Linked DNA regions of Homo sapiens: all the other regions are linked to region 7. The links are contacts of gene promoters, found by promoter capture Hi-C in blood cells and fetal thymus (Javierre and others, 2016). All regions are on one chromosome and are shown on one strand. Each heading gives the region's core, a stretch centred on a gene start or on the middle of the fragment in contact. The rest is flanking DNA. Distances are from core to core; before and after follow the strand shown.

Region 1 (3,412 bases), core at 869-3,368, 4.9 Mb before region 7:
CAAGTATACTAACTGTATTTTGTAATGTTTTGCAGGAAAAGACTATGCATCTACTTCACATAACTCCAATTTTAAACTCTTGCTGTCAGCATAGCTATTAGAAACAGGCTAATATAAGATCCCTGGGGACAATTTACTAGATTCTCCTCAAGGGAGAAACCCAGGTGCCGGGTCAAGGCAACAGTTTATCAACAAAGCAAGGAAGACACAGGAGGAAGAAAAAGAAGAATGGAGGTAGAAAGGCTCATAGAAAAAAAAAAAAGACCAATTTAATCCCTCTTTCCTGGAGATAGAATTAAGCTAGACTTGGTGGCCCGCTTTGGCCATCTGTGTTTTAAAATGTCATATCACAAATAAAAAGTATGCTTTTACTGATAGCTGTAACTTGTGGTACTACTTAAAGCATACGTTTAAAAATATTTAATGATTAATAGTAATGAGATTTTTTTTTTTTTTTTTGAGACATAGCCTCTCTGTGTCGCCCAGGCTGGAGTGCAGTGGCGCGATCTCGGCTCACTGCAAGCTCCGCTTCCCGGGTTCACGCCATTCTCCTGCCTCAGCCTCCTGAGTAGCTGGGACTACAGGCGCCCCCCACCACGCCCGGCTAATTTTTTGTATTTTTAGTAGAGACGGGGTTTCACCGTCTTAGCCAGGATGGTCTCGATTTCCGGACCTCGTGATCCGCCTGCCTCGGCCTCCCAAAGTGCTGGGATTACAGGCGTGAGCCACTGCGCCCAGCCAATACTGATAATTCTCAGTATCTAGTATTAACCGGGTTACGTTTAAAAAAAATAGTTCATAATTAGTGCCCTTTTAAATAACTGATCTGTAGAAATCATTTAATTTCCTTAAGTGATATTTAAAGATAGAGATATCTAATTTCTTGTAATAGTACCAAAGACATCCAGCACTATAACGTCTACAGAGTATGACGTCTAGCGGTAAAATGGCTTTATTCTCAGAACAGAGTATCGGTTTCCTCATTTGCTTGCTGCCTCTGTTTCCTTTTTACGTTCACGTCTCTGTGCTGTAACCTTCCAAATCCTTATCACCAGGCCCCAGGAAATATCACCTGGTCGGCACACTCCTGCAGGGCCAGATCACTGTGCACACACTTAACCTTCCATTGTTTTCCATACGTTTCCTAGGATGCGGGGGGCTAGAGGATGACGGAGAGTTGCCTCCCGGTTCTTCCTCTCGTTCTTATCTTGGGCCCTCTAGGACAAATGTCCCTCACGTCCCTCGATGCGAAGGTCTGGCCGCGAGCAGCCGCGGCCTCCGGCACGTGACGGTCACGGAGCCGTCGCGGTCCCCCGCGGCTGGGGGGCACCCGGGGATGCGGCGGGCGCTGACGTCGTCCTCCCGGTTACCCACAAGCCTCCGGGCCGCAGCAGAGCAGGAAGAGGCGCGCGGGGCCGGCGCCTGCCGGGGAGGTCGAGGCGCTCCCTCGGCGAGCCGGCGCCGCCGGCCGGGTCTCCTACTGCTTGCAACCGGGGGAGGGGGACCATCCGACAGCTCAGCCGGGGCTGAGAGGGAGACGACGCCAAGGCGGTCTTGCATCGCCCCCGGCTTTCCAAATGCAGACCCTACCGGAACCGGAGCCCTTCCCTGACAGCCGTAGGACGGGAGACGGCCGAGGGGTCGCCTGGACTGCCCCGCCCTCGCGCGGTGACCCACCGGGGACCGTGCGAGGGTCGCTTCTAACCCTTAAGAGCTAGAGAGCCGAGTCACCCTGAGGAGCGCCGTATGGCGCTGGTTGCGCGTTGTTCTTTAATCAGCCTCACTGAACGCGCCGATCCCAGTTTTACCTCCCGGGCCCCACCTTTCCACGCCTCCTCCGGCTTCCCGGGGTGTTTTGTGTGTCACTCTCCCACGTACAGTCCCTCCCCGTCCCTCGTTCCTCGGCCCTCTCGCCCGGTCTCCCTAGTCGTCCAGACGCTAGCTGCCGCGGGCGTTCCTGGTTCGCGCTCCCGCCCCCTCCGCCCCGCCGACTCGCCGCTTCCTCCGGAGCCCCAGCGTCCCGAACCAGGGACTGCATTTCCCGGCAGGCGCCGCGGCCCGCGGCCAATGAGGGGCTGAGGATTTGGCGGCGGCGGCGCCCCGAGAGTCGGGGTGGGGGGGCTTTGTGCGCGGCGGCGGCGGGAGAGGCGGCGGCGGCGGCCAGCACGGAGGCGGAGGCCGAGGGGGCTGTGCACAGGTCGCCGCGGAGAGGCGTGCGAATTCCGAGCCGAGCGCCGAGGACCGTGCTACCCAGGCCGGGCTGCCAGCCGCAGGCTCCTCTCTGGCAGCAGCGGCGGCGCGGCGACCCCCGTCCCTCGGCCTCCCCTTCCCATCCCACCTCCCGAGCCTTCCTCTTCCCGCAGCACGCCCGGCCCGGCCCGGCCGTGGCCCTCCTCAGTGCCGGCCGCCATGGCAGAGGCGTCCGGCGCGGGGAAAATCTAGCCCGGGGATTTCATGCGGCCTAGCTCGGTTCCGCCTCCTCCTCGCGCGGCCCCAGCGGCTGCCCGCACCCCAGCCCCACTCCGGGCCTCCGTGTCTCTCCTGTGATCGCACTGACACGGCCGGGGGGTTAGAATGGAACAAACTGAAGGTAAAGTGCGTGTGCGTGTGTGTATGTGTGTGTGTGTGTGTGTGTGTGTGTGCGCGCGCGCGCGTGTGTAGTGCTAGGAAGGGCTGAGGAGGGAACGACGGGGAGGGGGCGACCTAGGGATGGAGCGCCAGACCCCAGGAGGAATGGAAGGGGAAGCGGGTGGCCTGAAAGGGCTCGAGGGGAGTCCTGACGGAGGAGCAGATGGCAAGGTGGGGGGTGTGGAGGGAATTGGGGGGTGGGCCAGGGGAGGTGGGGAGTGGGATGGGAGTCGGAGTGGCGCTGAGCTGGGAATTGGGAAAGTGGGATGGGGGCGGGGATAAGGATGGATCGGGGAGGGGCAGGGAAAGGGGAGAAGAGTTGCATGGAGATTACAGACCTGGGTGGACTGATAAATAGGGAGATTTGGGGATGGAGTGTAGGAACCAGAAGAGTCTGGGAGAAGGGGATAAATTTGCTGGAGAAATGGGGCATTTTATGGGAATGAAGGGAGAAATGAGGAATGGAAGTGAAGGAAAAGGTGGATTAGGAAAGGGGATGAGGCAGGCTGCAATAGGAGAATGGGAAATAGACGCAGGAAACTGGAAGACAGGATTGGGCTAGGGAAGGAAATTAACTGAATGATGACAGGGATGAGAACGATCGACTTAGCGTCAGAGTGGGAGGAAGAGAAGGGGATGGAGGTCGTTAAAGTGTTAGGAAGGGAGGCCTTTTGTTCCTGTATTTGTGTGTATTCTGTGTCTTTCTTTCAAGGCTAGAGAATAGAGAAGCTGGTGGTTATGGGATTGTGATTGTTGTGAAATGGGGAGGTGTGGGTTTTACTGT
Region 2 (3,499 bases), core at 323-2,822, 4.6 Mb after region 7:
TAGCTGGGAATACAGGCGCGCACCACTGCACCCTGCTTATTTTTTTTGTAGAAATGGGGTTTAACCATGTTGCCCAGGCTGGTCTCAAACTCCTGGGTTCAAGGTATCTGCCCACCTCAACCTTCCAAAGTGCTGGAATTACAGGCATGAGCCACCATGCCTGGTCCGAAATTATAATTCACTGTGTTCATGGTGAAATAGAGGCGTGTTCAGGGTTTTGGGAATTCAGAGAACAGAGGATTGGGGAGGTCAGGGGACAGCTTCCTGGAAACGTGACTCTTGAACTGATAAGGATAAGTAAGCCAGGGCCTTCCATGAAAGAGGTCAGCTTATAGGAGCATAAGAGCTTGGTACCTTATTGGCTAAAGCATGGACCCTGTGTTCTCAATAAAGAGCAAATTATATTTAATGTGTTCAGTTTAAGAAGGCAGGGAAGTGTGAAATAGTTTTTCCCATAACAACTCATTAGTGAGGGTATCAAAAAGCCAGGGTTTACTTTACATATATTTTAGTTTGCTCATAAAATCCTCCTGCTTAATTTATTTAGAAATATGAAACCGGGGATTGTAAAAAAGTGGAAAATTATTTTTTCCATTAAGAACCAAAGATGTCTCAGAGGAAAAGGAAGTATTCTATTGATACTCATACTCCCTCTTTACTTTGCAACTATGTATTACATACTAAAATTTATTTGGTAGTTGATAGATAAATGTAATTGAGAATTCCCATCAACATACCAAAAGCATTGTTGCTCAGTAAGTTAGATGGGTGTGTCATGCCTCCCAAATGGTTGGAATAAGTCCTCCCATGGCCTAAAAGTTTTAATTTTGTGTACTGCTTCAGAAATATGTAATAGGCTGTGTTTTAAATTTATAATTATGAAACAAAAACACATTTTGTTTAGCATTTTCTCATTTTTGAGATTCACTTTCCAGAGTACCCTTCCCACACACAATCTATGACCACCTCTTATTGATTCTGCTTCCTAAATGCAGCTTTCTTAAATAGGTTCTATTTCTCTCCAGTCCAACTAGAATACTGTCTTTGTAATCGGAATTCAACAAGACCCCTTATCTGGTCTCTCTGCATTCAGTCTTAACCCTCTCAAATTCATTCTTTCCTCTGCATCCGGAAGTTGTTTTAATTGCAGAGTTCCATGAAACCCTCTCAGTATCTTCCTTTGCCCTTAGGATAACCTCCTACACTTAACTTGGTTGAATATGTTCCATTGCCTGCCTCACTCTTTTTTGCCTGGCTAATTTCTTCATATATTTCAGATCTCTGTCTAAATAACACTTCTTCAGGGCCTCGTTGAATTAAGTACCCCTGTTATATATTTGATGGCATACTTCCTATTTGTAGCACTTGTAATTATTGGCGTGTGTCTGTCCTCCCCCATGTAGATTCTGTGTAAATAATTGGTAAATAATTTCTGAAGGTTTATCAAGGTCTATGGATACCCTTGAGAAAAGATTAAAGAGTGAAATTAAAGAGATTACAATAAGCAGTAACCATTGAAGTAAAAAAGGAATGATAGCTACCTTTTATAAAGCAATTATTGTGTGCCAGGCAATGTGCTAAGTATTTGCTATGTAGTTTCCCATTTAATCCTTTGATCCAGGTGACAGTATTCCCATTTTACAGACAAAAAATGTGAGCTTCAGGGAGGTGAAGTAAGTGGCTTAAAGTTAGCATGGATTAAAAATGATAGAGCCAAGATCGAAACCCAGGTTTCCCTGTTATTTAGTGAGGGTAGGAACTCTAGCACCCTGCACCATGCCTAGGTTATCTCTTAAAAAAAAAGAAGGTAGAGTGCATACAGAAAATATATTCAAGGCTATTTTTAAAAATTAGCTTTAAATGCAAGTGTGGTTCAATTAAGATCTTCAGGCCAGGTGCAGTGGTTCATGACTGTAATCCCAGCACTTTGGGAGGCGGAGGCAGGCAGATGGCTTGAGATCAGGAGTTCTAGACCAGCCTGAGCAACATGGCAAAACCTGTCTTTACAAAAGATACAAAAACTAGCTGAGCGTCGTGGCATGTGCCTGTAGTCCCAGCTACTTGAGGGGCTGAGGCAGGAGGATCACTTGCGCCTAGAAGGTTGAGGCTGGAGTGAGCTGTGATGGCACCACTGCATTACAACCTGGGTGACAAAATGAGACCCTATCTCAAAAACAAAAAACAAAAAAAAGTTTTTAAGGTTATTGGTTAAAAAAAAATTTTTTTTAAGTTTGAGGACTTTCTTGATGAGCTAAAGGCCCCCATATCAGAGCATACTAATTTGGTGCTGAAGTTAGTATTTTTTATCTTCCAAATTTAGCTCCTGTGATACCATTTATAATTCTCTAACTTTGCACATCACCCTCTTGGTGGCTTTTCACACACCCACATGAAAACAATGGATGCCATTATAACGTAATACTTGGGTATCTCCTTCTTAGATACCAACTCAGAGGATTTCAGTGGCTTTCCGTATTTATAATATGCAATATTCAGGCAGCTTTATTTAACTGAAGAAAACTCATTGGCATTTTCAGTTAACCAGAATCATTTTAGAAAGCAGAGGAAAATTAGAAATATATCTTTTAAATTAGCACATTTTAGAGCATGTTCTGTTATTTGTATAGATTGAGCCTAACTGAGTACGCTGATGGCCAGTTCAGCTAAGGATAGAAACTGGAATTCACAAAGGTCCTTACCGAAAGAACATGGAACAAAAAATTCTGAGCACGTTGACAGAAATTAAGTTTGAAACATCATGGCCAGGAACCCAGTCATTTAAATAGATGAAGAGTCAAGCGAATAAAATAATCCAAAGCAGTTCAAGAATGCAGCCTGTGTGTTGTACTTCCTACAGATAGTACCTGAGATGGAGAGAATCTTCTGGCTTATTCAGTCAACAAAGATTTTTTATGCAACCACAGTATACCCTTGGCATTCACAATTTTAACGCTTTCCATTTTAACCATTACATTTGACCCCTGTGACATGGAATTATTTATAATTTTGCTGAGACACAAATTTGAATGTGACTTTAAGATTAATGTTAATCCTTTGGGAGGGGCCTGAGTGCCTCAGAATCCATGGCGCTCTGCAGAGGCCGGCTTGTTAAAAGTCTTAAAGGAAGGTCATTTAAATGCTTGTTATACTATACTTATTAAATTTGAAGGAGAAAATTACATGCTGTAGTTGTGTTTACAAATTTTAAAACTTGAGAAGGCCACGAAATACATTCTTCAGTGGTCTTTGCTCCTTTGTTCAAAATGCTGTTTCATTTCTACTGGCTCAAACTTTTAACTTGCCATTTCTCCTGGGAAAACAGATGGAGCAAAGAAATGAATTCATGGACTGCTCCCAGTGGAAGACAAGTAAAACACCGAGTGCAATTGTAGATTATGTAGAAGATTGCTTGAAAGGGGCAAATCCTGCCCCAAGGTCAGTTTAAGAAATCATTAGAAAGGGGCGTGGTTAATCCTCACCTTGGATCTGAGAGTGTTGG
Region 3 (3,623 bases), core at 471-2,970, 4.3 Mb before region 7:
GTAGGAGAAAACAGTATTTTAGGGATGATCAATGAGGAGCACCAGTTTCCTTTAGATTTTGTCTCTAAATCTATATACACATTTATTAATCACCACCCATGGCATCATCTTGGACTACTAAGTGAAGTTCTAAATTTACATATATATGTGTGTGTGTGTATTCTCTTTCCCGTGGTTACTGACATAAAAAGCTCCATCTGAAAAGGCTCCCCTATTCAAGGAAATATAAATAGAGATGTTCAGCAGAATCTGCTAGGAAAGCAATGACCAGGAAAGGGAGCTATTTAACAGGAAGTTGCCGGCTTCTCCCTGTCTCTGCCTTACCTGTAATATACCCCAATATGTCCCTCTTCTATCTTGTGCACAGCTGAGAAGAGAGATGCACAAAAGAAACTGGAAGCCACAGCCACAACTGCTCCCAACTGAGCCATCAGTGAGCCTTTATCCTAGGGAAAAGACACGGGAAAATGTGTGTGGTCCAACGTGCAGGAGAAAAGGCCACAACAGCGAGAGGACCTCACCAAGCTGAGCTCCCTGCGAGTGACTCATATCCAGCCTGGTGTCGTGTGAACACAAGGCTAGATCTACAACTCGCTTCCTCCTCGTTCTCAGTCAACGTTCCCCTTTCTTTAACTGTAAAATTAGAGCCCCCACCGCACTGAGGAAGCACTGGCTCCGGATACAGCCGTTGCTCAAGGGAGAACCCGTGCCAGCTGGGTAGGGTTCAGAACACAGCCTTGTCTTCCTGTGAACACGAATGTGCTGTCACTGAACCTTTCCTACCAGTAGTAGGGAAGAGAGGCAGCTGCAGTACTTTGGCCCAAATTACAGAGGATGCCAAATGACAGGCAGTTGTGGCTATGTAATTCTGGTCAGAGTCTCCCACTCCTAATTGCCTGCAGTTTCAAAGGAAACCATTATTTACTCCTTTCAGATGCTGGAGTGGCAGAGCCAGCAGGCGAGCAGAGTTTCAAGGTAGGATTCGTTGGCCTCGCATCCACCTTCCCAGTTATTCCTTTGGCCCTAAACAGGACAGGGCTCTGAACAAGCCTGAAGCCACACTCCCCCCCATATACTTTGGCACTTTGCACCTGACAGATCCCCAAGCCCGTGGTCAGAGAGAAAGGCAATGTCCCAAACTGCGAGCCTCTAGGCTCCTAGGTCCAACCGCGTTCAGGCACCAGGACGCGGAGGAGTGGGATCCTGAACGCTGAATGATCTGGAACTATGGTGACTGACTGCAAAGTTCAGCTGTGCGTGCGTGGGCCCGTGAGCGCAGGGCGTGGATTCTGCCTCCCAGGTCTAACGTAACCGGGGCGCGGACATCTGCGAGGCGCTTATTTTACCGTGGCGGCCTCCGGCTACCGATCTGCAGTTGCGTCCTTTCCTGCCAGTGCCCTTCCCTCCCCGAGGTCACTCGCGCCCCTTCCCCGCCCCGTTCCGAGAGAGGGTCAAGCGCCCTGGTCTGGGGCTGCGGCTCCAATAGCCTCCGCTCGGTCCCCCTGCGGCTCGCAAGGAGAGGACGCGACAGAAAAGGGTTTCTGTCTCTCTCCAGGAGCGGGCCGGCTGAGGGAGAGAAGCTGCTGGGACTGAGGTTCCCGAAAGTGACGGGTCAGCCCCGACCCTGAGCGGCAGCTAGGCCCAGCGCGCGCACGAAGGGGCGGGGGCCGCGTACCAGGCTGTCCCTGCAGGCGCTCCGTACTCGTCCGAGCCCACGAGCAAGAAAACCGTCACACCCCTCAGCACGCGACTTCCTTCCGGGCCGTCGCTTCGATGACGCCATCAATTCACGCGAGAAGACCACACCCCCGCCCCGCGCTCGCTCTGCGCCCCGCCCCTCGCGCTCCCAGCGGTCAATGGCCGTAGCTGGCCGCCAGGGATCGCCCGCGACTTGGTCGGTGCGGTCCTGGACCTCGGTCTTGGGTATCCGTCCTGGGGCTGGGGATGAGGGCGGTGTTGGTGGGAGCTCCCCGAGAGCGAGCGGCAGGACGCGCATGCCCCGGAGTACTGAGACCCAGGGCGAACCTTTCCAAGGCGTTGACTTTGGGGATTGCTCCGGATTTCCTTCTGCATTAGGCCGAACCTGGTTCGTTTTGGTTTTTTTAGAGACAAGGTCTCGCTCTTTTGCCCAGGCTGGAGTGCAGTGGCACGATCATAGCTCACTACAGCCTCGAACTCCTGGGCTTAAGCGATCCTCCCACCTCACCCTGCTGAGTAGCTGGGACCACAGGCGCACGCCACGACACTTGACAATTTTATTTTTAGTAAAGACAGGGTCTTGGTATTTCTGGTCTCAAACTCTGGCTTCAAGCAATCCTCCTGCCTCGGCCTCCCAAACTGCTGGGATTACAGGCATGAGCCACCATGCGCGGCCTTTTTTTTTTTCTCTCCTTGATAAGGTACTGGCGAGTTGCAACTGTTTGCTTTCCTATAGCACAGCTGAAATGAAACAGTCTTTTCAATGTACAGATTAGCATCATTACCTCACCAATCAAAAATCCCTACCTTGAGTTGTTCTTTATATTTTTCTGGGAGCTTTGGCCCTTGGGATCCTGCAACGCCACAAAGTATATTAACAAGGAATTATTATTCTAATTTTAATGAACGGAATCTAAGAAGTTCAGCGAGGTTCAAGGGTAAAAGCCAAGGAAAGTTTCCTTTGTGTTTCCTTAATATCTTGAGTTCACTGCTTTTTAAACTCCTGCCACAGTGCACAGGGGCTAGTGCACTTCGTCTTTCTAGATAAACTGTACGTTCCCGGGAGAGCAGAGACTGACTTTCCTTCCGCACCCCCGGGGCTTAGGTGCCCAGTAAAAACAGACTGAAGGCAACGTGGGACCAGGCCCGGAATCCAGAGTTTGTGTCTCCTAGTCTAAGGGCCTCACGTTGTCCTCCACCTGCCCTATTCACCAGCATCACATTGGGGCATTTCTAATTCAGCCACTGAGGTTATTAATATTTTGTTTGCAGGAGAGAAAGAGTCCACTTAATTATAGCCTTCAGTAAAAGAAAAACTTTTACACCGGGAAGATGGCAAGCTGGTGGTGTTAGACAGATTTAAGACTCAGGAAAAGGGAAGTGTGGTTTTTTCCAGGCATGCCTGCTTGGGATTGGCCCGTTTACCTTTCCTGCGTTTGCTCTGGGTGTTGGGATGTTTCAGCATTACATGGTGAAACCCATACGAGGGTTACATGGTGCTGTCTGGGAGCTCTGTGCCCATCTCCATAAATGAAGGCCTTTCATCTCCCTACTCTGTCCCTGCATCCCCCACCCCAAACAGACACAGCTGGCCAATCTCTCGATCAATCCTATCAGAACTTGAGTTTTTTCTCTCCCTGTTCAGTGATATAACCTCAGCTGGGCATGCTTATTTAATAGTTTATTTAATAATTGAGTAAGAAAAATGGAAATATTAGGGTTCATCAACCCATGAAATGGGGGCTAGCCTGCAGCATCAAGTATTTAAATTACTTGTAATTTAAGAATTTCCTTTAACCAACCTCTGGCAACCCGTCTCCCCTCCCCTTCCCACAAATATGTATATTATTATGTGTCAATTAAAAATAATAAAAACACAAAAATTTCCTCACATTAAACTTTGGAGTGAATTGTGGCTAGAAGTT
Region 4 (3,504 bases), core at 215-2,714, 4.4 Mb before region 7:
TGCTCTGCTGTGTGATCATGCAAGGAACTGTTCCCAGTGCAAGTTATGTCGCTTTCAGGGACACTTTCTTCATCCAAATAAGAATGTCAACCACACTAAAACTAATGGATGTCTCTGAGTGGTGTGTGTGTGCGGGTGCGCATGTGCAAATGTATCTTAATATTTAACTGTCAGACAGCCAGAAATAAGCTCTCATCCTGTATCTCACGCTAGTGGGGAGGTCTAGAAAAGGCGGGGGGGCTTGGACTGCCGGATCCCACCCACGATTAATGTGCTGAAGCCCCCTTCTGTTATGATACTAAAGTAATTCAAATTGAAGAGAAAGGACCGTTGGGTATTATTGTGTCTCTTGGCCCTCCAATGTGAGCGATCCCCATGGGAATGGACGGGATGTCTCTGAAAAGGAGTAGTGATTCTCACACTCTGAGAAAGCAGTCTCTTAGGGAAGGGATGGTGTCTTTAGGTTTGGATATCACGTGTAAAAACTGGGTGTGGAAAAGAAGGGAGTGACACTTCTTAAAGGTATGTTTTATTTTGTTTGAGATGGAGTCTCGCTCTGCCACCCAGGCTGGAGTGCAGTGGCGCGATCTTGGCTCACTGCGCCTCCTGCGCCTCCTGGGTTCAAGCGATTCTCCTGCCTCAGCCTCCTGAGTAGCTGGGATTAGAGACGTGCACCACCACGCCCAGCTAATTTTTGTGTATTTTTAGTAGAGACGGGATTTCACCATGTTGCCCAGGCTGGTCTCAAACTCCCGAGCTCAGGTGATCCACCTGCCTCGGCCTTCCAAAGTGCTGGGATTACAGGCGTGAGCCACCACGCCCAGATAGCTCAAGGTTTTTTAAAAAACATCTGAATCTGCGTGCTTGCGCCGCTCCAGGTCTCCATCACTCCATATTCTTTCACTCCAAACTCCTTTAGACATTCCTGCCTGGCCTCCAAAAGCGTTTGGGTTTGCATCTCTGGATTTTTTTTTCAACTTCCTCATTTTACAGTTGAGAAAAACAGGAGGTAAAGAGAGGAAGGAATCTGCTTTAGGAAGCAGCTCTGGAAAGCAGAACACAGTTTCCTGCTCCCGCTCTCTCTCCACTACTCTCCCTTTAAAAAATATACTTTCTTCTATGGCCAATTAAACATTCATTACCAACCTGCGATTCCCTTAGGACTTTAAAAGGAGGGTTGTTCAGGGGTGACAACAATCTTCTGTCTGTTATACGTGTCCATGTAGGCAAAAACTTTCCCAAATTCAACCCCAGTCTAGGTCCCAAAAACTAACTACAGAGTGCAGGGAAACCAGACAGCTACAGTTCAGCCCAGGAACCTCCTCTCCTAGCTCACGTTTCTACCCGAGCCCGCGGAGGCACAGACCGGAAGTGGCGCGCAGCCTCCCAGCGGAGGGAACCGCCTATGCCTCCGTCGCGCTGGCCGGAAGACGGGGGTGCAACCCTTTGAAGTGTCCCCTCCTACTTCTTGCTGCCTCACGGTTGCTGTTGCAGACCCAGGAGTCTCTGAAGGCTTCCGCGGCTTTGGGGCCGGTTGTGAGATGCCAGGCAGAGGCCGCTGCCCGGACTGCGGCTCCACGGAGCTGGTGGAAGACTCGCACTATTCGCAGAGCCAGCTGGTGTGCTCCGACTGCGGCTGCGTGGTCACCGAGGGGGTCCTTACCACTACCTTCAGCGACGAGGGCAATCTCCGAGGTACTTGTGGCCCTGGGGACAGCCTGGGGCGGTGGAGGGATTAACATCAGATTCCTTTTGCCTCCCCGCTCCCCCCATACTCCTAACTGTAACGCACACACTTAATTTGAGAGAAAATGACCTAAAGTGAGCGAGGGAGCTGAAGGAGATGGGGGCTGCCATTCATCTGTGTTTTCCCAGCACTTAGTATCGGGCATAGATGGTGCGTGTAATAAATATTGAATAAGTGAGACAGAAACAAAAGTTCCACTCATCTTGCCATGTCTGGTCATTGTGGAAGGATTGCCGATACGATTATAGCAGGTATTATTACCCTGAAATAGTTTTAAGCACAAACTGGCAAAACATCACTTTTCTTTGCTTTCCAAGTTTCTGACCAGTGCAGCCCTCAAAATCTGCAGCCATTGTCTGGGTGGGGTGGCTTACGCCTGTAATCCCAGTGCTTTGGGAGGCAGAGCCGAGAGGATTGCTTGAGCCCAGGATCTCGAGACCAGCCTTGGTAACGTAACGAGACAAGTGCCTAAAAAAATTTTTTTTTAATTAGCCAGGTATGGTGGCATACACCTGTAATCCCAGCTACCCAGGAATCTGAGGTAGGAGGATTGCTTGAGCCTGGAAGTTGAAGGCTGCCGTGAGCTGTGATCGCACCACTGTGCTCCAGCCTGGACTATAGAGGGAAACTCCTTAAACAAACAACAACAAAATCTGCTGCTAGGAAAATTGCCTGTATGGAATGTACTGGAAGGATGACTGGAAATTTGGAACACTTGGAGCTGCTTTAATGCAGTCCTAACCTTTCCCAGTCTCTGTGTATTCGGAACCTCTTGTAGACATAGAAAACCAGATGGGGCCTTTAACTGTGCAGCAGCAGATGCTCAATGATTTGAATTTTGCGTCCTGGTTTTGTGTGGTGGGAGGGCAGGGGTCTGATGAATAAAGGCTAAGCACACTATTTGTTGTTTATTATCTTACAGAGGTAACATATTCCCGAAGCACAGGGGAAAACGAACAAGTTAGTCGCAGCCAGCAACGAGGTGAGAATTGACCTTTTACAACACAGTGGCTTTAAAGAAAACTATCCTAGGCCAGGTGCTGTGGCTCACGCCTGTAATCCCAGCACTTTGGGAGGCCTAGGCAGGTGGATCACCTGAGGTCAGGAGTTCAAGACCAGCCTGGCAAACATAGCGAAACCCCGTCTCTACTAAAAATACAAAAATTAGCTGGGCATGGTGGCATGTACCTGTAGTCCCAGCTACTTGGCAGGCTGAGGCAGGAGAATCGCTTGAACCTGGGAGGTGGAGGTTGCAGTGAGCTGAGATCGCGCCACTGCACTCCAGCCTGGGTGACAGAGTGAGACTCCATCTCAAAAAAATAATAATGAGCCGGGCGCGGTGGCTCATGCCTGTAATCCCAGCACTTTGGGAGGCCGAGGCGGGCGGATCACGAGGTCAGGAGATTGAGACCATCCTGGTTAACACGATGAAACCCCATCTCTACTAAAAATACAAAAAAATTAGCCGGGCGTGATGGTGGGTGCCTGTAGTCCCAGCTACTCGGGAGGCTGAGGCAGGAGAATGGCGTGAACCCGGGAGGCGGAGCTTGCAGTGAGCCGAGATCGCACCACAGCACTCCGGCCTGGGTGACAGAGCGAGACTCTGTCTCAAAAAATAATAATAATAATAATAATAATAATAATAATAAAAGAAAACTATCCTGGTGGCCTAGCCCAGCTTTTCACTTTTCCTATTTTCAGCATTGCTGGTGTGAGGTAGAGTAGAAGAGAATGGTAATTAGGAATTTAAAATGGGG
Region 5 (3,591 bases), core at 1,092-3,591, 4.3 Mb before region 7:
TAAGGTCACACATTGATTTTATTTTGGAGATTGGCAGCCGGGTCAGGCTTAGCTCTGAGGCTGGAGAGCGGTAAGGCTGCTAGGAGGGCGGGTGCTGGAGACGCTAGCCTGGAATAGCATGGAGGTAGCAGGCGGTGTCTCCAGGCAGCTGGTGCAGATGGGACCATTCGAGAAGGCACTCCGGCACTCAGAGTGGCCTCTGCTCCCTGTGATCTCAAGGCTCAGGAGTGTGGGCTTGTAAAATTTATTCTAAATACAAGAAAAGTGCCAAAAGCCCCTCCTGCTGTCCCCACTGTGTGCCGTTTCAGCTGCTCTGTGCTGCACTTTAAAGGAAAAAAAAAAGTGTTAGCTCTGCGGTCCCTTGAGGCTTCAACGTGATTATAGAAGAGGAACTTAAGTTTAAGGACCCTTACCTTGCAAGTAGCTGCTTAACCACACAGAGCCATAGTTTACACACGTTGGTGCAAACTGGGTGGAAAAGGAAGCCCTTTTCTTTACCTATGTGTTCCTTGAGGGGAGGACAGATTAGTAAAACATTTTGGTAGACAGTCTGGATTCTTTTGTCCTTAGTCATGAGGCTGATGTAATAGCATTCAACTAATTTCATGGTAAAGACAGTCACAGTTCCCAGAGAAATCCTTTCCCCTTGCACCACTGGTGACATTCCACTCCTACTGCAGCCCTTCAGGAATTGGTAAGCGAGTACTTCCTCCTTCAAAGCTTTGGTGGGATGCACACGACCACTTCTTTTCTGAAGGATGAAGATGTCCTGGATTTTAAGAATGTCCTGTCTGACCTCATTCCTGTGTGTCTAGCCTTGGGGAACAGAATTCACTGCTGGTCCAGCTTCAGGGGGAAGGCACAGGGTTGCACACTCTGGGCCCTGCAGCCTGTGAGATTAGCTTGAATCATGAGGAATGAGCTTGGGAGGGAGATGGGATGACGAGAGGGGAGGCCAATCCCACTCATGGCTGGGTTTAATGCTCTCCTTCCTTCTCACCCCCACTGCCTGTGGTTTCAAAGTTTGTTCTGCATTAAGATGCGTCAATTCTCAGCTGTTCCACTGGAATAGAAACACACACACTTATTTTATGGTAATAAGGCTCGTTTAAATGAAAGCTGCACATCTAAGAATATGCCACTTATCAATTATTAAAGGTAGAGATAGAAGATACCAGTGTGGAGTAGTGACCATGTTCTGGGCCAGAAAGTCAAGTCCTGAGTTTATTTCTCGTCCTGCCACAACTCACTCTGACCTCAGACAAGGAGAACACGGAACCTTCTCTGGGCCCCAGTGCCCCGTCCACAAAGGGACATTGCCTATCAGCCTACACAAGTCTACCAGCTGTTGTGATGGTGAAATGAGAGAATATAGAGAATAGTGCTGCATATGCCATCAATGTTAAACAAAAGGTGGGGGGTACCATTTGAGTATTAAGAGGTTGCTTTAAGAACTGTGATAGAATCTGTGAGGAGCTCCCCAAGAGATCAAAGTCTTGATGGACTATTGGGAGGTTTTGTGGCGTCTCAAGCCTTCTGAGGCTGGCTTCAGGGCAGACAAGGGCCCAGCGCCTTCAGAGACTGTGAGGCTGCACAGGTGGGCCCAATCCAGGAGAGCAAGCCGTCCAAACTCCAGGAACTGGCTTTCATGAAAATCTGGAAGAAACCCAACCTGCCACCCATCATGCGTAACGAAAGACAAACTCACAACCTGGCTCAATTTTCTCTCTGCAAAATATCCCATCCTGCTGGGGACACCCTAGACACACTTTGGTGTCCTTCCCTTATCTAGATCTGATTGAGCCTTCCCTGGCTTTCCTCCTTATTCGCTGTTTTTGTTTTGTTTTGAGATGGGGTCTCACCTTGTCACCCAAGCTGCAGTGCAGTGGTGCGATCTCAGCTCACCGTGACTTCTTCCTCCCAGGCTCAAGCGATCCTCCCACCTCAGCCTCTGGAGTAGCTGGGTCCACAGGCATGTGCCACCATGCCCAGCTAATTTTTGGGCGGGGTATTTTTGGTACAGACAAGATTTCACCGTGTTGCCCAGGCTAGCTGGTATCGAACCCCTGAGGCTCTGCAAGTCACACTATCACTTGAGAGCGTCATGTCCTCTCTGGCCTCCACCAGACTGAGTAACCAGGAGTCCCTCATAAGGTAAACTACTGACAGTGGAGAGCCAGTGCTTGTCCCTCAGGTTAGCCAATGTCGCCATCTAGAGGCAATTCAAAAGTCTCTTGCAGTGAGGGGTAACTATTTTTGTAATTCTTGAAATGTCCTTTTTCTTGCCCTTAGAAGTTCAGAATCCCTCTCACCCATGGTGTAGCTTTGGCTGCGTCTGTGACCCCAGGGAAGCCCTCCTCCAAAGCCAGGCTGGCACAATGCCAAGGCACCAGCATAGCTGCTTCCCGTCGGTTCCAATGCCCCCACCTGTTATATTCAGTCACTACACCAGATCATAAAAAATAAATCTTTTAATTGCTTTGTAATTGGCACAGATGGTGTAATTCAAACTCACATTTTTATTTAATAGACTCTGAAATATCACACTGTAGCTCTCACTGAAATAATACAGGAATCATAATGTTTAAGTTTACAAAAGTACATTTGGCAGCATCATGATGTTTTGAAAGTTACCTGTAAAATCAAAGACTGGGGCTTCAAAAAATAAGAGAAAAAGCCATCTGGAAAATAAAAAACAAGCCATACTGAAGCCATTTGTCATGACTATTAGAGAATGGTGTTTTTGGGTTTTTTGAGGATCTTGCTACTTTATTAATGATCCAGAAGAGTTGCACAATTCTGGCTTGTAAATACAGTGGGGAAGCTGTAACTATGCCTGGAAAGTGCTCCTCAGGACAAGGAATGTCAAAGCCAGGCTTTGTTGAAACCATGTGCCTGAAAAGGCTTTGAAGGAATCTTTCGTTTCTTAGGAGTAATGAGATTCACTGGGTTTTGATTTAAAAAATCACCCTAAAGAGGATTATAGTGGAGGAGATAATCATTAAATTCTCATCACTGTAGGTCCCAGAGGAAAAACGCAAAGTCCTGTCTCTTCAGGATGATGTCAGAAAGGCCCAAGTCCTCCTTATGTTATCCTTTAATTTCAGGGATAAAACAGAGTGGCAGTGACACAAGCTCTCACTACCAAATTAATTTTTTTTTTAAGAGACAGGCTGTCTCTAAAAAAGTTGGGGGGTATTATCTGCATATTAAAAGGTTGCTTTAAGAAATGTGACAGCATCTATGAAGAACTTCCCAAGAGATCAAAGCCTTCATGGACTATTGGGATTTTTTTTTTTTTTTTAAGGCAGGAGTACAGTGGTGCAATCATAGCTCACTGCAGCCTCAAACTCCTGGGCTCAAGTGATTCTTCCATTCTTCCACCTCAGCCACCATGCCCAGTTAATTTTTAAATTTTTTTGTAGAGACGGGGGGTGGGGCTCCTGCTGTTGCTGAGGCTGGTCTTGAACTCCTAGGCTCAGGTGATCCTTCCGCCTCTGTCTCCCAAATTGCTGGGATTACAGGCATGAGTCACCATGCCTGGCCAGCAACAATTTGTGTTTTGAGAATTAACCTGAGCCATTTCCTGAA
Region 6 (3,677 bases), core at 187-2,686, 4.3 Mb before region 7:
TCAAAACGCCTTTCCAGGCTTGCCCGTTCCCGGCTTTCTGGGCGCGGGGACCAGAATTAGAAGCCACTGGGGCGGGAGCCAGGGCTTTTCTCTGTCAGATGGTTCTTGCGAGGAACCCCTAAGCGATACGAAAGGAAACTCTTCTTTCTTCTTTTCCCTAAAGACATGGCGTGATTCAAACGTATCGTGATTTTTGTCATCTTTCAGACCACTGCTGTCCAAGAGAAATATAACGCCATCCAACTGTGTAATTTGGAAGTTTCTCATAGGCACATAAGCTTAAAAATTTTAATGATATACTTTATTTAATCCAATATATCCAAAGTAAGATTTCAACATGCAATCAATAGAAAAACTAAATGCGATATTTTAATTCTTTTGAAAATCGTATGTGTTTCTGAAACCCGGTGTAGTGTTGACTTGCATATGTCTCAATTCGGGCCATCCCTATTTCGAGAGGTTAGCGGCCACCTGCGGCCAGTGCTGTCTCATCAGGGGACACAGGCAGCATGATTATTACTATTATTATTATTGAGACAGTCTCGCTCTGTCACCCAGGCTGGAGTGCGGTGGCCCGATCTGGGCTCACTGCAACCTCCACCTCCCGGGTTCAAGCGATTCTCCTGCCTCAGCCTCCCCAGTAGCTGGGACTACAGGTGCGAGCCACCGCGCCCAGCCCACAGGCAGCTTTAGATGGTCTAGCAGGAGCTCAGCACATTCAGTTAGATTCTTTTTTTGAGATGGGGTCTCGCTATGTTGCCCAGATTATCTGGGACTCGTGGGCCCAAGCAATCCTCCCACCTCCGCCTCACAGAATAGCTGGGACTACAAACGGGCACCACAACGCCCTGAGTTTGATTCTTGAGTCCCCTTCTGTGGGCAATATGGTTATAAACTTGATGAGGAGCCAGGCCATACAAATAATAATACAGAATGCTACATAGTCAGGTGGTGAAATAGTAGGTGCTACGGGCAAGGAGAAGGAGATCAATTTTGTTAAGGAAAGCACTCTTGGCTGCAATTTCTGTTGAAAGTTTCTCAAACATTAATTCAACTTAATGAAGTGGGATGCTATTATATTAGAGAAATGGCTAATGTTTGTTCTTCAGGTGGTCTTGTCTTGAGGTGATGGGGTTTATTAGAGCTTTCCGGAAAGAAGGGGCAATATTCTTACTCTCTCCTCTCACAGTTTTTCCCCAGACTCCCAGGAACAGAGATGGAATTTCACATCTTCTGCTCTGGGAAAGTCACATTAGGCAGAACCTCAGATCCTTAAAATAAGGGACTTCTTTTTGGGAAGTCTCTGGTCATTTACCCTGGTACACATTAACTGGGTTATCTGCAAACTAGGACTGCCAACATTAGGAGTAATTGTGTTCAGATAAAATGTCTCTAGACTTGATACATCTGTACTCCAACCAAAATGATAAAAAAATTTAAAATGACCAGAATGGCCCTTTGTGGTGTGAGCATAATAGATGCTTGCTGTAGAGACACAGGTGGGAAGGAGCGAGCCAGCAGTGAGTGATGGGGAGGACAGAGGGGATCATGGTGATGGGATGTGTAGAGGAAGGATTGGGTGAGATGAAACACTTCAAATAATGTGCTATTTGGAAAACATTTTAAAACCATAAATACCTCACAGATCTAGGGAATGTATAATCCAGGTGTTACGTCACTATGACAACAAGTAGTTGTAGCTTCATTTACTAGATTGGGCCTCTATTCTTTTTTGTGTTTTTTGAGACGAAGTCTTGCTCTGTCACTCAAGCTGGAGTGCAGTGACGCGATCTCGGCTCACTGCAACCTCTGCCTCCTGGGTGCAAGTGATTCTCCTGCCTGAGCCTCCCGAGTAGCTGGGACTACAGGCGTGCATCACCACGCCCGCCTAATTTTTGTATTTTTAGTACAGATGGGGTTTCACTATGTTAGCCAGGTTGGTCTCGAACTCCTGACCTTGTGATCCACCCGCCTCGGCCTCCCAAAGTGCTGGGATTACAGTCGTGGGCCACCGTGCCCAGCCAGGGACCTCTATTCTTTGAACTACAAGGCAAGGTCATCCTCCCACCCCCTTATCCATTCAGTGAACATTTACTGAGGCGTTACTCTGTAAAGAACCCTGAGAGAGACCAGGCTGAGTAAGACAGGCTTTACTGCCGATTTACTTCCAATATGCTCGCTTTTCATCTCTGACATTCTGTGGTCTTATGAAAATGGAAATGGAGACAAAAAGATCATGGTGCCCCCAGTCCCATGGTCATTTCACATTCCAATTTCTTCTTAGTTGTACTTTTGAATTAATTTTATTTCACTTTGTCCCTTTTTTTCCTTATTTGCTTTTTTAATTTCTTCTCTTCCTCTTCCTGGGACATCAACCATCCAATTTAACCTTTCATCCTCCCCTACTACCTAATCCTTGAAAAATACAAGTCCAAAATCATTTCATCACCAGTAATTGTCTTTAAATTGCTCCAATAATTTGCAAGGACCAAGGGGAAAAGAGAAAGATTAAAAAGCCAAATGCCCAGAGAAACAGATTTTATAAATAATCTAAAATCTAGTATACTTATTCACCATCAATGCCATCAAGCTTTTAAAACACCCTCATAGTCTGGAATAAATCCAAATTATGAGAAAAACATATATGGATTTAAAAATTGTTTCCTTCTGAGCCTACTGTGAGTCTTTTAGGGGGATAAAAAAGTAAAAAGTAAAATAGAAAATTACTGTTGCCTGGTTACTTAGCTCTAAAGAGAAACGGAGAAATAATGCCCATGTCCCATCCCAGTTTAAATGAATTCAGGTAGAGTAGCCCATGACAGCAAGCCCTTGGCACACATGCCATCACATCTGGCCTTTGAAATGTCTATAGAGATAGTAGAACCCTAGACCTAGGGAAGACTTAGGGAGGTTTCATACAGAAAGAATGACATTTAAACCATCCCAAACAGCACAGAGTCTTCACAATTTCTGAAGACCATCAGAGAAGAATATTTATTTTCTATTTGCAAGTAACTACTCCTCCCCATTTGAAAATTTAGCAAGCCTGATCTTAAGTAAATTCTTTACAAATCCTCCTTTATTCAAGTGAATTTCCTCTTTTTAGCTACCAGTATGTAACTTTTATAATCGTGAAGTCATTAAATGTCCCTTCTGCCTTTTCTGGCATCAACCTATGAGCTTTATTTCTTAATTACTTTTTTTTTCTTTTTGGTTTTAACATTTTCTTTCTAGCTTCTTCAAATTTTTTTCATTTTTAAAATTGGAGACCAGAACTGGACAGTTCCTCTCAACAGGGCCAAATCAGATTCTTTTCTTTTTTTTGGAGATAGAGTTTTGCTCTTGTTGCCCAGGCTGGAGTGCAGTGGCGTGATTTTGGCTCACTGCATCCTCTACCTCCCAGGTTCAAGTGATTCTCCTGCCTTAGCCTCCCAAGTAGCTGGGATTTCAGGCATGCACCACCATGCCCGGTTAATTTTCTATTTTTAGTCGAGATGGGGTTTCTCTATGTTGGTCAGGCTGGTCTTGAACTCCCGACCTCAGGTGATCCACCCACCTCAGCCTCCCAAAGTGCTAGGATTACAGGTGTGAACCACCGTGCCTGGCTTCTTTTCTTTTCTTTTCTTTCTTTAAACCAGGTTATTTTCTACACAACATTTTTGTAGAGGTATGTATCC
Region 7 (3,690 bases), core at 343-2,842:
CTAGAGTTCCCCCACTTCAATAAATAAAATCACCATTTAACTATGTATTTATATCCCAAATCCTTTGATTTCTTCCTTTTCTTCTTCACTTAATCCATCACCAAAGTCTTGTCAATTATACTGACGTAAAAGGTCTCAAATTCATCAATTTCTTTTCATCTCCACCATTAAATTACTACCTTAGGCGAAGCCACTTTCGTTTTTAAAAAAATTTATTTACTTTAGAGATAGGGTCTCTCTGTCACCCAGGCTGGAGTGCAGTGGTGCCATCATAGCTCACTGCAGCCTCGGACTTTTCGGCTCAAGTAGTCCTTCTGCCTCAGCCTTCGAAGTAACTGGGACCTCAGGCGAACACCACCGCGCCCAGCTAATTTTTTATTTTTTGTAGAGATGGAGTCTCACTTTATTGCCTAGGCTGGAATCGAACTCCTGGCCTCAAGCGATCCTCCAGCCCCAGCCTCCCAAAGCGTTGGGATTACAGGCATGAGCCACTGTGTCTGGCTTGAAGCAACCTTTGTCATACCCTAGTCTCCTTGCTTTCATTTTTTCCCTCCAAAAGTCCTTCACACAGCAACTAGACAACTTTTCACAAACATAGATCATTAAAAGGCCTAAAAAACACTTCCTACAAGATTCTGCATGACCTCGCCCTGGCAAGCATATCTAATTTCATTACCTGTCTTACATTGTCACTTTGATGACCCTTATATTCATTCTCTCATATCTTCAACTCTTTGTACTTTACTGTTCCTACTGCCTGGATTGCTTTTTCCTCAGCTCCTCAGTGACTGGCTTATTCTTATCTTTTAGATCTCAACTCAAACATCTTCTGTTCAGAGAAACCTTCCCTGAGTAACCCTATCTGAAGTGTCCTTCATCATCTCTGGTCTTTCTTTCATAGTATGATTATATAGTGTAATTGTTAACTTATTTGTTCACTTGTTTACTGTGTCTCCCCCATCAGTGTTCCAGGAGAGGTGGGACATTTTTTCTGGTTAACCAAATCCTCAATAATTACCACAATGCCTGGCACACTGTAAGCACACTGTTATTTCTCCAACAAAAAACTCAATGAATGAATCTAGGATACTTCCGAAATTATGACTTAGGCAGAAGTAGAGCAAATGTAAAGAAAAGCCTACACAGGAAACGCAGATGGAAGAGTAACGCGCACATGGATGAGAAGGACGCTTAAACTTGGAGTCAGCTTCGCCAAATCCCGGGCCGCCCCCCACCCCAAGTCCGGAGCTGACAGCTGACAGCTGACAGCATGACGCGACGTCCTGCATTGGTAGGCACGAAGGACGGGACACATCGACCCCATGGGCTGAGGTGACGGAGTCCTGTGCTCACAACCCGGCCGGGGCAGCGGGCAGTAAACCCCTGCTAGACACGCGTGAGAACCTATGTTGGAAAATCGGGGTTCCGGAAGCCTCACATCCAGAGCGGCACGAGGCAACAGACCCGCTGCGTACGCGTTTTCTAAGTGTCCGAAAATGGGCAAAATTCCCTGCGCAAACCCCGGGTGTAAGAACAACCGGAGGAGACTCACATCATCCGACTGCATGGTGTCCGCGGCTCAGCGTGCAACTTCCGGTCGGATCGCGGGCGCAGACATGCTCCTTCCGGGAAACCAGTTCCGGAACGCGCAGCCTCACCTATCTCGAGAAACGCTGAGACTCTCGGTGTTGCGAAGCGTCCCCTGGCAGTCTCGTCGCCGCGCGCGCGCCCCCGCGTCTTCACCACGCTGGCGTCTGCGCGCGCCCGTCCGCAATGCTGGGCTTGTTCATGGGCGCAGCCTGGAGCTGGGAACCCTGTTGGGACCCAGTGCGATCCGCGGGAGGCAGGACGCGCGCAGTCTGCCGAATCCTGGAGCGCGGGGACCGCGGGGGTCGGGCGTGCTTCCCTAGCGCCCTGTTTGTGACCGTTCATGAGGATGGGACCCCTCCCTGTCGGGCCTCCCCTCTGCTGGGAGGAGGCTGGGGAAAGCTGCAGGCGGCGCGGCGGGGCTGGGTCCCCGCTCCTCCGAGTCCCCCGGCCCCAGCTCGCAGCCAGGCCCCGGCCCTGCCCCTCAGACCCTGACTTAGCCACTCCCCACGCCCACGTTGGGTGCGGCACCGGGTCCTGACTTTAGAAACTCAGAACTTGAATTCCTCCTGCTTTGAGAAACCACTGACCAAATGGAAAGAGCATTCCAATAATAATAAACACCTGTGTCTTCCTCATTGCCTATTTGAGACAACAAACAAAGTTGATAAGGGAGGGAAAATACCAAGAAGAAAAGTAGAGGTCTAATAACCCACAAAAACAAATCTGGAAGCCTAACAGCTCTTTTCCGCCAGGGGAAAAAGAAAATCTTTACTAGTTTGTATCGTATTATAGAAGAAAGACTGTCGGCCGGGCCGGGCGCGGTGGCTCTCGCCTGTACCTCAGCACTTTGGGCGGCCTAGGCGGGCGAGTTCCAGACCAGCCTGGCCAACATAGTGAAATCCCGTCTCTACTAAAAATACAAAAATTAGTCGGGCGTGGTAGCAGGTGCCTGTAATCCCAGCTACTTGGGAGGCTGAGGCAGGAGAATCGCTTGAACCCGGGAGGCGGAGGTTGCAGTGAGCCGAGATCATGCTGTGGCCCTCCAGCCTGGGTGACAACCAAAACTACCTCTCAAAAAAAAAAAAAGAAAAAGAAAAAAGAAAAGGAAAGAAAGACTGTCAAGAGGCATTTGAACCAGAGCAACCCCATCTTGAATAGTGGCTGGGTAAAATAAGGCTGAGATCTGCTAGGCTGCATTCCCGAGGGTCAGGCCATCTAAATCACAGGATGAGGTCAGCACAAAATACAGGTCATAAGGATGTTGCTGATAAAACAGATTGCAGTAAAGAAGCCAGTCAAGACCCACAAAACCAAGATGGCAATGAGTTTGACCTCTGGTCGTCCTCACTGCTACACTCCCACTGGCGCCACAAATGCCATGGCAACATCAGGAAATTACTCTATATGGTCTAAAAAGGAGAGGCGTAAGTAATCCGCTCCGTGTTTAGCATATAATCAATAAATAGGCTGGGCTTGGTGGCTCACGCCTGTAATCAGCATTTTGGGAGGCCGAGGCAGGTGGATCACCCGAGGTCAGAAGTTCAAGACCAGACGGGCCAACGTGGTGAAACCCCATCTCTACTAAAAATACAAAACTTAACCAGGCGTGGTGGTGGGCACCTGTAGTCCCCGCTACTTGGGAGGCTGAGGCAGGAGAATCACTTGAATCTGGGAGGCAGAGATTACAGTGAGCTGAGATCAAGCCGCTGCACTTCAGCCTGGGCAACAGAGCAAGAATCAGTCTCAAAAAATACATGAACAAATAGCGATAAAAATGGGCAACCAGCAGCCCTCGGTGCCGCTCTGCCTATGCAGTAGCCATTCTTTCATTCCTTTACTTTCTTAATAAGCTTGCTTTCACTTTACGAAACTTATGGACTCACCTCAAATTCTTTCTTGCTTAAGATCCAAGAACCCTCTCTTGGGTCTGATTGGGGACCACTTTCCAGTAACAAGACCATTTTAATAACAAAAGTGTAAGAAGGACACAGTCTCAGTAAGGATGGCGTGTGTCCGGGAGGCCACCCACAGGTCCTAGAGGCTGCCTGTGGCTTCTTGCCACATGGGATTTCTCAACATAGCTCCTTACTTCATCAAGCC

What was found. The method cuts DNA at HindIII sites, captures the fragments that hold promoters and counts their contacts. A CHiCAGO score of 5 or more calls a contact.
Region 1: the fragment with the promoter of NSD3 here is called in contact with the fragment with the promoter of MAK16 in region 7 in 1 of 17 cell types (fetal thymus); the score reaches 5.6 in fetal thymus.
Region 2: a contact is called between a fragment that was not itself captured here and the fragment with the promoter of MAK16 in region 7, in 1 of 17 cell types (naive CD4 T cells). The highest score is 5.7, in naive CD4 T cells.
Region 3: a contact is called between the fragment with the promoter of ERLIN2 here and the fragment with the promoter of MAK16 in region 7, in 5 of 17 cell types (naive CD8 T cells, naive CD4 T cells, activated CD4 T cells and 2 more). The highest score is 10.8, in naive CD8 T cells.
Region 4: a contact is called between the fragment with the promoter of BRF2 here and the fragment with the promoter of MAK16 in region 7, in 1 of 17 cell types (erythroblasts). The highest score is 6.0, in erythroblasts.
Region 5: a fragment that was not itself captured here is called in contact with the fragment with the promoter of MAK16 in region 7 in 1 of 17 cell types (erythroblasts); the score reaches 6.2 in erythroblasts.
Region 6: a contact is called between a fragment that was not itself captured here and the fragment with the promoter of MAK16 in region 7, in 4 of 17 cell types (activated CD4 T cells, naive CD8 T cells, erythroblasts and 1 more). The highest score is 9.3, in activated CD4 T cells.

What each region holds. Positions count from the first base shown.
Region 1 is chr8:38,380,977-38,384,388 of GRCh38, reverse strand. It overlaps NSD3 (nuclear receptor binding SET domain protein 3), which reads left to right and starts at 2,118. Exons shown (of 24, transcript NM_023034.2): 1 at 2,118-2,590. It also overlaps a transcript of LETM2 not described here. RefSeq lists silencers at 1,212-1,561, 1,752-1,901, 1,932-2,331 and enhancers at 1,980-2,770, 3,061-3,412. The HindIII fragment of the contact is 5,398 bases long and covers 1-3,412 here.
Region 2 is chr8:28,884,937-28,888,435 of GRCh38, reverse strand. All of the region lies in intron 1 of INTS9 (integrator complex subunit 9), which reads left to right. Among named protein-coding and RNA genes, the nearest start is that of INTS9, 3.3 kb to the left of the region's middle. The HindIII fragment of the contact is 4,325 bases long and covers 1-3,499 here.
Region 3 is chr8:37,734,731-37,738,353 of GRCh38, reverse strand. It overlaps ERLIN2 (ER lipid raft associated 2), which reads right to left and starts at 1,720. Exons shown (of 12, transcript NM_007175.8): 1 at 1,676-1,720; 2 at 325-446. The coding sequence starts at 431. LOC102723701 (a long non-coding RNA gene) reads left to right here and starts at 928. Exons shown (of 2, transcript NR_125821.1): 1 at 928-975; 2 at 1,556-3,593. RefSeq lists enhancers at 366-1,158, 1,638-1,847. The HindIII fragment of the contact is 8,102 bases long and covers 1-3,623 here.
Region 4 is chr8:37,847,821-37,851,324 of GRCh38, reverse strand. It overlaps BRF2 (BRF2 general transcription factor IIIB subunit), which reads left to right and starts at 1,464. Exons shown (of 4, transcript NM_018310.4): 1 at 1,464-1,695; 2 at 2,670-2,729. The coding sequence starts at 1,542. RefSeq lists enhancers at 1,259-1,608, 1,649-1,788. The HindIII fragment of the contact is 8,285 bases long and covers 1-3,504 here.
Region 5 is chr8:37,778,631-37,782,221 of GRCh38, reverse strand. It overlaps PLPBP (pyridoxal phosphate binding protein), which reads right to left. Exons shown (of 8, transcript NM_007198.4): 8 at 2,454-3,591. Among named protein-coding and RNA genes, the nearest start is that of ADGRA2, 16 kb to the left of the region's middle. RefSeq lists enhancers at 93-1,292, 1,233-1,733. The HindIII fragment of the contact is 3,237 bases long and covers 723-3,591 here.
Region 6 is chr8:37,758,631-37,762,307 of GRCh38, reverse strand. It overlaps LOC124901934 (a long non-coding RNA gene), which reads left to right. Exons shown (of 2, transcript XR_007060889.1): 2 at 1-3,677. Among named protein-coding and RNA genes, the nearest start is that of PLPBP, 2.2 kb to the left of the region's middle. RefSeq lists an enhancer at 35-114. The HindIII fragment of the contact is 2,312 bases long and covers 281-2,592 here.
Region 7 is chr8:33,483,084-33,486,773 of GRCh38, reverse strand. MAK16 (MAK16 homolog) reads right to left here and starts at 1,592. Exons shown (of 10, transcript NM_032509.4): 1 at 1,553-1,592. The coding sequence starts at 1,567. RefSeq lists silencers at 1,585-1,772, 1,983-2,172 and enhancers at 1,663-1,812, 1,800-2,436. The HindIII fragment of the contact is 3,746 bases long and covers 1-3,442 here.